2 separate regions of the Homo sapiens genome follow, and region 2 is linked to region 1. Evidence: promoter capture Hi-C in human tissues and cell types (Jung and others, 2019). All regions are on one chromosome and are shown on one strand. Each heading gives the region's core, a stretch centred on a gene start or on the middle of the fragment in contact. The rest is flanking DNA. Distances are from core to core; before and after follow the strand shown. Region 1 holds the start of SCCPDH (saccharopine dehydrogenase (putative)). Region 2 overlaps TFB2M (transcription factor B2, mitochondrial).

Evidence for each region. Contacts are between HindIII fragments. The study calls those that stand out against the background at their distance.
Region 2: a fragment that was not itself captured here is called in contact with the fragment with the promoter of SCCPDH in region 1 in 1 of the 25 tissues and cell types used here (lymphoblastoid cells).

What each region holds. Positions count from the first base shown.
Region 1 is chr1:246,720,709-246,726,093 of GRCh38, forward strand. SCCPDH (saccharopine dehydrogenase (putative)) reads left to right here and starts at 3,701. Exons shown (of 12, transcript NM_016002.3): 1 at 3,701-3,904. The coding sequence starts at 3,715. RefSeq lists an enhancer at 3,135-3,294 and silencers at 3,505-3,634, 3,675-3,744, 3,845-4,054. The HindIII fragment of the contact is 7,574 bases long and covers 1-5,385 here.
Region 2 is chr1:246,540,280-246,545,542 of GRCh38, forward strand. It overlaps TFB2M (transcription factor B2, mitochondrial), which reads right to left. Exons shown (of 8, transcript NM_022366.3): 7 at 4,242-4,402; 8 at 282-923. The coding sequence ends at 752. Among named protein-coding and RNA genes, the nearest start is that of LINC01743, 19 kb to the left of the region's middle. The HindIII fragment of the contact is 6,053 bases long and covers 1-5,263 here.

The sequences.
Region 1 (5,385 bases), core at 2,451-4,950:
TTTGCCTTGTGATGTTCTATTACCTTGTAAAGTACTTGATGTCTGTGACCCACACCTATTCACACACTCCCTCCCCTTTTGAAAATCCCTAATAAAAACTTGCTTGTTTTTGCGGCTTGTGGGGCATCACAGAACCTACTGACATGTGATGTCTCCCCCAGACGCCTGGCTTTAAAATTTCTCTCTTTTGTACTCTGTCCCTTTATTTCTCAAGCTGGCCGACACTTAGGGAAAATAGAAAAGAACCTACGTGAATATCGGGGCAGGTTCCCCAATACTATTCACAATAGCAATTCTTGGAACCAAGCCAAATGTCCAACAATGTTAGACTGGATTAAGAAAATGTGGCATATATACACCATGGAATACTGTGCAGCCATAAAAAGATGATGAGTTCATGTGCTTTGTAGGGACACGGATGAAACTGGAAACCATCATTCTCAGCAAACTATCACAAGGACAAAAAACCAAACACCACGTGTTCTCACTCATAGGTGGGAATTGAACAATGAGAACACATGGACACAGGAAGGGGAACATCATACACCGGGGCCTGTTGTGGGGTGGGAGGAAGGGGGAGGGATAGCATTAGGAGATATACCTAATGTTAAATGATGAGTTAATGGGTGCAGCACACCAACATGGCACATGTATACATATGTAACTAACCTGCACGTTGTGCACATGTACCCTAAAACTTAAAGTATAATAAAAAAAAGATTTATCATGTATTCTTAACATTTTGTGTGCATATACATACATTGTTTTGTCTTAAATATACTCTTGTAATGTTAGGAAATTTGGAAGATTTTCCGTGTCACTATACACAGTTTTGTTTTGTTTTTTTTTTTTTAGAAACATAGCCTTGCTCTGTTGCCCAGGCTGCAGTGCAGTAGTGTGATCATGATTTACTGTAACCTCGAACTCCTGGGCTCAAGCAATCTTCCCACCTCAGCCTCCCAGGTAGCTAGGACTACAGATGCACATCACCACACCCAGCTAATTAAAAAAAAAAATTTTTTTTTTTTTTTTTTTTTTTTTTAAGAAATGGGGTCTTGCTACATTGCCTAGGCTGGTCTCAAACTTCTGGACTCAAGTGATCCTCCTGCCTTGGCTTCCCAAACTGCTGGGATTACAGGCGTGAGCCACTGTGCCCAGCCTACTTCATTCTTTTGTTTTTGTTGTTGTTGTGTGTTTTTTACCTAGAACCACCTGAATAGTCATTCTTCATTCTTTATAGCTGCACAGTTCCTATTGAATGAATAGGACACCATAATTTATTTAATAATTCCTCTGATAAAGGACATTTCAGTTATTTCTACTTTTTGTTATTACAAAGCAATGCTGCAATGACCATTATGTTAGTCCATTTTTGCGTTGCTTTAAAGGAATGCCTGAGGCTGGTTAATTTATAAAGAAAAAAGTTTATATTTTGGCTCATGGTTCTGCAGGAAGTACATCAAGTGTAGTGCCAGCATCTGCTTCTGGTGAGGCCTCAGGAAGCTTCCAATCGTGGCAGAAGGTGAAATGGAGCCAATGTATCACATGGTGAGAGAGAGACCAAGAGAGAGAAGGATGAGTGCTCTTTCAACTACCAGCTCTTGTATGAACTTATGCAGAGAGAACATACTCATTATCCTGGGGATGGCACCAAGCCATTCATGAGGGATCCACCCCCATGACCCAAACATCTCCCACCAGGCCCCACCTCCAATGCTGGGGATTACATTTCAACATGTGATTTGGGGGGGCCAAACATCCAAACCATAGCAAGCATGCTTCCCAAAAAACAAAATATATATATATATATATATATATATATATATATATATATATATATTCTGTTTTTTTAGGGTTTTTTGTTTTCTTTTGTTTTTATTTTCTTTTTAGAGACAATATCTCACTTTGTCACCCAGGCTGGAGTGTAGCTCACTATAACCTCCAACTCCTAGGTTCAAGCAATCCTCCTGCCTCAGCCTCCCAAGTAGCTGGGACTAAAAGTGCATGCCACTGTACCTGGCTCTGTAAGATTATTTTTTAGTGACTGTTTACTCCACTAGAATGTAAACTTCTTGAGGGCAGGGGCTTTATTTGTTGCCATATCCCCAGTACTTTATTCCTAGTGCCCAGTATATAGTTAAGTGTTTAATAAATACTTGAATGCTTACTACTTTACACCCACCAGATGGACAAGCATGAAGTCTGAGAATACCAAGTGCTGACAAGCACGTAAAGCAAGAGGATTCTTGTATCCCGCTGAGAGCGAAAATTAGTGCATGTGCTTTAAAGAGCAGTGAGATAACTCAAATATGGATATTCTAGCACCAACCATTTTCATTCCTGACACATATTCAATACACTTTCGCACAGGTGCTTTAGGAGAAAGGTACAAGAATTTTATTGTAGCATTCTTTGTATTATATTGCACAAAAGCACTATACAACATTGTACAAAAGCATTGTAGAATTTGGTGTATTTCTCTCTCTCTCCCTCTCTCCACACACGTATCACAGACATTTTTTTTTATTCTGAATCATTTGGGAATAAGTTCACGACATCATGACCAAATAAGAAAGCTGCAGGATTGACATTTACAAAATATTCAAAATATGCAAAACGGTACTATAATATTTATAAATACATACATATATAACAAGCAGAAAGATAGGAATAGGAATAATAAACACTAAATTCAGGCAAGTGGCCGTCTTGGGGACGCAAAAGGAAATGTGTTCAGGAATGAATACCTGGAAGCCTCGCTATCTGGAATATTTTTCTTAAGCTGTGTTGAGGGTACATATTTGTTATTGGCTGTACCTTTTTTGCAAGACATATATTTCAAAATTTTTAAAAGCATTCATTTATTCCTATTTTAATGAGAGTTTTTAAAAATCAGGAATGGGCTGGGTGCAGTGGCTCATGCGTGTAATCCCGACCCTTTGGGAGGCCGAGGTGGGTGGATCACCTGAGGTCAGGAGTTCGAGACCAGCCTGGCCAACAAGGTGAAAACCCATCTCTACTAAAAACACAAAAATTAGCAGGGCGTGGGGGCGCTCCCCTGTAATCCCAGCTACTCGGGAGGCTGAGGCAGAATCGCTTGAACCCAGGAGGCGAAGGTTGCAGTAAATCGAGATCGCGCCACTGCGCTGCAGCCTGGGCGACAGAGTGAGACTCCATCTCAAAAACAGAAAAGAGAAAAGAAAGGGAAAAAAGGGAAGAAAGAAAGGAAGAAAGCAAGCAAGCTCAAGGGTTCTCGGGGTGGGCCATCCCCGAGGCCATCCGCAGATTTTCTCGCACTCTTTGCTCCACCCCCACGTGCAACAAGGACAACCGGCTGCCGCCTCCAGCTTCCAGCAGGGCTAGAAGATGCGCTGCCCGGGGCGGCCAGAGCCCTGCAGAACAAACCGCCGCACGGAATTAGGGGCCGCCGTCCGCGCCTGCCAGGCTTGGAAGCGGACTCGCCCCCAGGGCCACCGCCCTAGGAAACCTCCCGTCGGAAGCCTCCCAAGCAAGCCGCTCACCCGCGGCTCCCGCGCGAGGCGGCGTGGGCGTGGGCGCGGCCCTGGCGCGGCGGCGCGCGCGGGGTGAAGGGAGCCCGGCGCGCTGGCTGCGGCGACGGCGGCCGTTGCTGCGCCGGGTACTGGGGTCGCTGCCTGAGGCGCAGGCGCCGTGGACTCCACCCGCCCCGGGGCCTGGGCTCGCTGTGGACTCGTCATGGCGACCGAGCAGAGGCCTTTCCACCTGGTGGTGTTCGGCGCGTCTGGCTTCACCGGCCAGTTCGTGACCGAGGAGGTGGCCCGGGAGCAGGTGGACCCGGAGCGGAGCTCCCGCCTGCCCTGGGCCGTGGCGGGCCGCTCCCGGGAGAAGCTGCAGCGGGTGCTGGAGAAGGCGGCCCTGAAGCTGGGTACAGCGGCGGGGCGGGACGGGGCTGCGCGGGCGGCTGGGCCGGGGACCCCGCATCGCCCCAAACGAGCGTTTCTCCCGCAGGGATGCGCCCTACGTGTCCCCGAGCCCTGCGTGAGGACAAGAAGAGGAGAGGGAGAGATGTTTCAAATACTGCCATAGCTTTGTCCCACCTCCTTAACTATATGTGTGTGTGCGCGTGCGTGTATAATATACACACACATTTTTTTTTCTTTCCTTCTCCTCTTTCCCGCTTTTTGCATTTCTGCCTCAGTTTGGGGAGCTCCCCTGGCGAAATGGTCAAGAACTTGAGTTGTCCCTCTCTCTGCTTCATCCTGCCCCGCAGCGGGGGCACCTGTTGAATCTGCGGGTTTCTAGATGTTTGGTCGGAGAGGAGAGGAGGGCTTTGGTCTCTTGGAGATCGGAGTCTCCCTTTGCCTCGTGTTTTGAGGACGGGAGAGCAAGCTTACGAGTTGTACTGACAGTGTCTTTGTGGCTATTCTGTTTTAGTTTCTTGTTTTGTGTGTAAGAATACTCCAGCAGTCTTCCTCTTCAGAGAATAAAAAGTGTGTATTTCTGGTTTAGACGCTTACGTATTCTCTAAGCATTCAGGTAGCATGTATTTATTGATAATCTAAGCATTCAGGTAGCATATATTTATTGATAATCTAAGCATTCAGGTAGCATATATTTATTGATTCTCTAAGCATTGAAGGAGCATATATTTATTGAGTGACGTTGTCCATGCTAAGACCTGTCCCGAGTCTGGGGTGCAGGATGGGACAGAGAGGAGACAGACACACGGATCCTGCTGCCTTCATGGCTGGGGAGACATCTGACTTACGACTCCGTAGCCTTTAAATTTGGCTATTAACTCCCGTAGATTTCCCTTATACAGACACCCATTAGAGTTCTGGAAATACTACATTCTTTCTGTTTAATCTACTTTCATACAATGCCCTGCTCGGAGTGCTTTTGTTCGTGGTTATGTACAGAAGACACCACGTAGGCTGGACTCTCCTACAGCTTTTGGTGCTGACACTACCAACACGTAATTCTGACCAAAGAGCTTTTTGGTCGTTATTTTTCCAACAGAAGTAATTTTACTATGAAAATATATGCTTCCATTTCTTTTTTCGGCTCAGCAAGATCGTACCGGTACAGCCTAGTCACTTATCATATATAATGCCCAAATCAAGTTTCATTGTGGGGGGATATACCTTCACCTATTGAAACCTGCATCACTTAGTTGAGCCAGTTAATTCCAATTATTTTCTTATGAGCCTGTGTGTGTTTATATAGCGTGTGCTTTTCACCTCAGAGTTCTAATTTTTTGTTTTTTGTTTGTTTGTTTGCCATTCTCCTGCCTCAGCCTCCTGAGTAGCTGGGACTAGAGGCGCCCGCCACCACGCCCTGCTAATTTTTTTAGTAGAGACGGGGTTTCACCGTGTTAGTGAGGATGGTCTCGATCTGCTGACCTCG
Region 2 (5,263 bases), core at 1,138-3,637, 180 kb before region 1:
CGCCTTGGCCTCCCAAAGTGCTGGGATTACAGGCGTGAGCCGCTGTGCCTGGCCAAGAAAATATTCTTAATTCCATTTAGGTTCACATAAATTCCATTTAGGTTCATATCCAACTTCAGATGAATTTTCTTGATAGAACAAATGTGCAGACTTTTCAGTAATACAGACTGAATTATTCACCAAAACTATATTGACGCTACATGACAGAACTAAAAAGGAGTAAATTAGGGTCAGTTTAATGTTTCATTAGGTATTTAGAGACCAAAAGAAACCACAAAATCTTCTTATTTAAAATATTTTAATTTCTAAAAAGCTTAAATCATATTAAAATTTAAACAATTTCATTGTACAGTACTTGACAATACATTTCAACAAACTGAAAGGCAAACCAGTAAATCAGTTTTGCTTACTTTCTAAGCTTAATAATGTACAGACTCTTGCTCTTCAAGAAGATGCAAAAATCAGCAACAGTACAAGTGAAATATTTAAATAGGAATCTGAAACAAAACGAATTCAATCTGATCAAATCCACAATTAATTGAAGTTTTCATTTTATTCAATTGTGAATAAAATAGCAGACACTGTTTCATCCAATAAGCCAATGATATCAGCTTAGGAGAAATGATCTGCCTGGCTTGTGCAAGACAAGAACAGTTACCTTCTGCTGAAAGGATGTGAGTTTTCAAATTTGGTTTTCATGTCATAGTTTCCAAATAAATGAACCGCTCCACCAAAAACGACAGTCTAGTTGCTACCTATCTTCCAGGGTTTCATCATACAGCCATTTATAAGCACAATCTTTGGAACGCTCTATAGTTTCAAAAAGTGTTTTGAAGTCTTGAGGGTGCATGTTAACTACTTTCTCATCCTCCTGTTTTCCTATTTGCATCAATATATCTCTCGCATCAAGTGGAGTCAATGAACTGCAAAAGAAATACAAAGTAAATGTACTTAATTCTTTCTCATGCATCTATCAGTTCACGGTGACAGAAATGGCTTCTAAGTTGAATTCAAAATGTCTAACTTAGGCATACAGAGTGCTATAATGGACACGGGAGAATCAGCAGGGAAGAGGATGGGAGGAGGGTGAAGGATGGGAGGAGGGTGAAGGATAAAAAGCTACCTACTGGGTACAATGTACACTATTTGGGCATGGGTACACTAAAAGCCCAGACTTCAACAATCCATCCATGAAACCAAAAAAATCACTTGTATTCCTAAGGCTATTGAAATAAGAAGAAAAAAAAAAGCCTAACTTATTATATATAAGCAATCTTATTTAGTTTAAGAGCTTCCAGTAACTTTATGCTTATTTCTAAAGTTTCATAGCTAACCTATAATGAAAATATTAATAGCAGGTTTAGGCTTTCACATACTCTAATCAATTTTTACACCGAATTCTAGTTTAATCACTGCCGTTTGAAAAAATTATTATGCCTACCTCTTTCATCCTTTTCCTTTCTGCAAAAAATATTCTTAACTTCTTTTGGTTCATGTCAAAGTTCAGTAACTATAAACAGCAGAAGTTGCTGTTTGGCAGTTTACAAAGAGGGAATCATTTTTCACATTTTGATGTAACCATCATTGGTAAATACATTATAAAGCCGCAAACTTCCTTATACAGTCATGCATTGCTTAATGATGGAGGTATGTCCTGAGAAATGCACTGTTAGGTGATTTCATTGTTGCTTGAACATCTTACAGAGTACTTAACCCAAACCTATGTGATATAGCCTATTACAGACTTAGGATATATGGCATAGCCTATTGCTCCAAGGATACAAACCTGCACAGCATGTTACTGTACTGAATACTGTAGGCAACTGTAACACAATGGTAAGTAATAGAAAAGATACAGTAAAAGATACAGCATCTTTATAATCTTATGGGACCACTATTGTACATTTGGTCCACTACTGACTGAAACGAGGTATAACGAACACGCCTCATTATGAGGTATTATATATATAAGGTATATTATATAATATATATACAATATATAATCAATGAGGTATATTATATACCATAATATGAGGTACATAACTGTGTATCAGCTTAGCAACAAACCATCAATAAGCCTCCAACAACAACAATTGTAAAAAAATATTTTGGGCTGGGTGCGGTGGCTCCTACCTGTTATCCCAGCACTTTGGGGGGCTAGGTGGGAGGATCATTTGAGCCCAAGAGTTCAAGACTATCCTGAGCAACATAGTGAGACCCCATCTCTACAAAAATCGTAAAAAGTTAGCTGGGCATAGTGGTGGGCATAGTAGTCCCAGCTACTCAGGGAAGAGGCTGAGGCAGGATCACTTGAGCAAGGGGTTTGTGGTTGCAGTGAGCTATGATTGTGCCACTGTACTCCAGACTGGGCAACAGAGTGAGACTCTCTGTCTGTTCAATTCCAATACTTTTTGATATTGAATAGAATCTTGGTAACATGTTTCTAGTCCACTGAGATTACCAGGAGCATTTTTAATATTTTGCACTATGATTTACAACATTTATTCCTTATTTCCCTATTTTCTTGATATTTTCATTCAAAATAGCCACAAGGTGGCAAGATGAAAAATAATAGATTGCCTTTTATTAGTCTATTGCCTTTTACTAGTCTATTACCACTTTTTTTTTTTTTTTTTTTTAGAGATAGAGTCTTGCTCTGTCACCCAGGCTCATCTCAAAGTCTTGTTGGCGCTCTCTGCCTCCCAATTTTTTTTTTTTTTTTTTTTTTAGAGACAAGGTCAGCTTGCTCTGTGTCCCACACTGCAATGCAGTGGTGAGTTTATGGCTCACTACAGCCTCCAATCCCCGGCCTCCTCAAGTGATCCTCCCACCTTGGCCTCACAAAAATGCTCGGATTACAGGCATGAACCACTGCACCCAGGCTATTGCCACTTTTAACATTTATTTTTAGATAAATATTGTCTAGTCAACAGCTCATTCAGAGTTAAATATTAAATGATCAAATTTGTTAAAATAATTATTTTAACATTTTACCCATCCTCTGGCGAGACTTTGAATGACTATGGGCTGCTGATTACAAGGCATAATGCACAACTTACAGGGACGTATGCATCAGCCCTACATACAAATTACATGGATTTATGTACAAATTACACAGATGGCTGGGCGCGGGAGCTCATGCCTGTAACCCCAACACTACTTACAGAGATGTATGCATCATCCCTACATACAAATTACATAGATGGCCAGGCGCAGTGGCTCATGCTGGTAACCTGAGCTGTACTTACAGAAGTGTGGGCATCAGGCCTACACACAAATTACATGGATGGCCAGGCATGGTGGCTCCCGCCTGTAACCCCAGCACTACTTACAGAGGTGTGTGCATCAGCCCTACATACAAATTACATGGATGGCCAGGTGCAGTGGCTCATGCCTGTAACCCCAGCACTTTGGGAGGCCAAGCAAGGTGGATTGCTTGAGGCCAGGAATTTGAGACCAGCCTGGGCAAGGTGGCAAAACCCCATCTCTACAAAAATTGGCATACAATTTATAAACACAAAATATAAATATAAAAATTTTATATTTTTACAAATATAAAAATTAGCCGGGCGTGGTGGTGCATGCTTGTAGTCCCAGCTACTCAGGAGGCTGAGGTGGGAGGATCACTTGAGCCTGGGAGGACAAGGCTGCAGTGAGCTGAGACTGTGCCACTACACTTCAGCCTGGACAACACAGCGAGACCCTGTCTCTAACAACAACAAAAAAATGTTTTTCACTTATATAGACATAAAGCAAGTAGTGTTACTTACAAGCTATTATTTTTACAAAGCTTTGGGTAAAAACAAAATTTGATCCAGAGCAAGGGAACCAGGGTGGTATAATTATCTATCCCTACTCTGGTTAAGGAACAGAACCACTGAAGACAAGCAATGAGAGGTAAGTGTGGGCACGCCTCCAGTAATGCTGATTTCTCTCCACCCCACTAGTGGTAGGCAGCTAGTGCTTCCTGTAAGATAAAGCTAAGCCCATACTCTCAAAAAGATTAAACAATCTGGGCATTTTTTTAAAGAAGGAAAAATAAATGAAACTCAATGAGAGATTATGGGAAAAATATATTTTCCTCAAAATGTACACCAGGGAGAACAAATTATTTTGAAGAAATATGAGGGAAAACATGGTACCTCACTCTGTCAATCAAGATATAAAAATAGATCTCTAGCATGAAAGAATAATTTGTGCATCGTTGCTACTTTATACTTGCTTTTATTCTTTTTACTCACCGTAAGTGGTCTATTACAGTGGCGCTGCGCCTCCCAAAACAGTGCTTTAACAAGTGAAAAAATATATTATAGTTCATAGGTGTTAAGTTCTTGGTAAATAAATTTTGACGAGGAATCATTTGAATAAGATACAGCTTTTGTTGTAATTGGTCTAATAATTCCTGGAGAGAAGAAAAAATGAATTGCATTAGTCACAAAATATTGCCAGAGTAAGACATTGCTCACTTCTTCCTTCAAGCTATCTGCTGAAAGACACAATCACCACAGGCCCTGAGTGTCTTCACATTCTCTTTTTCTTTCTTGGAGATAGAGTCTCACTCTGTCGCCCAGGCTGGAGTACAACGGCGTGATCTCCACTCACTGAAAGCTCCATCTCCCGGGTTCATGCCATTCTCCTGCCTCAGCCTCCCGAGTAGCTGGGACTACAGGCGCCCACCACCACGCCTGGCTAATTTTTTGTATTTTTAGTAGAGATGGGGTTTCACCGTGTTAGCCAGGATGGTCTCGATCTCCTGACCTCGTGATCCGCCCGCCTCGGCCTCCCCAAAGTGCTGGGATTACAGGCGTGAGCCACCGTGCCCGGCCCACATTTTCTTATTGTGTACACCAAGAACACAAAGCCCTAATTGGTCTTTACCAATGAATTGGGCCATTTCTCAGAGTTGTTTGTGATGAGTAACCTTGAGGGAGGAGATAACGTCTCTCTCCAGGACAAAGAGCAGGCCTGTGGCTGGGTGCAGTGGCTCATGCCCATGATCCCAGCACTTTGGGAGGCCAAGGCGTGGATCACTCGAGGTCAGGAGTTCAAGACCAGCCTGGACAACGTGGCAAAACCCCATCTCTATAAAAAATAAATTAGCTGGGTGTGGTGGTGTGTGCCTGTAGTCCCAGCTACTCGGGAGGCTGAGGTGGGAGGATGGCTTGAGCCCAGGAGGTGGAGGCTGAGAGCATGCCACTGCACTCAAGGCTGGTTGACAGAGCCAGGCCTTCTCTTAAAAAAACAAAAGGGCAGGCTTGCTTAA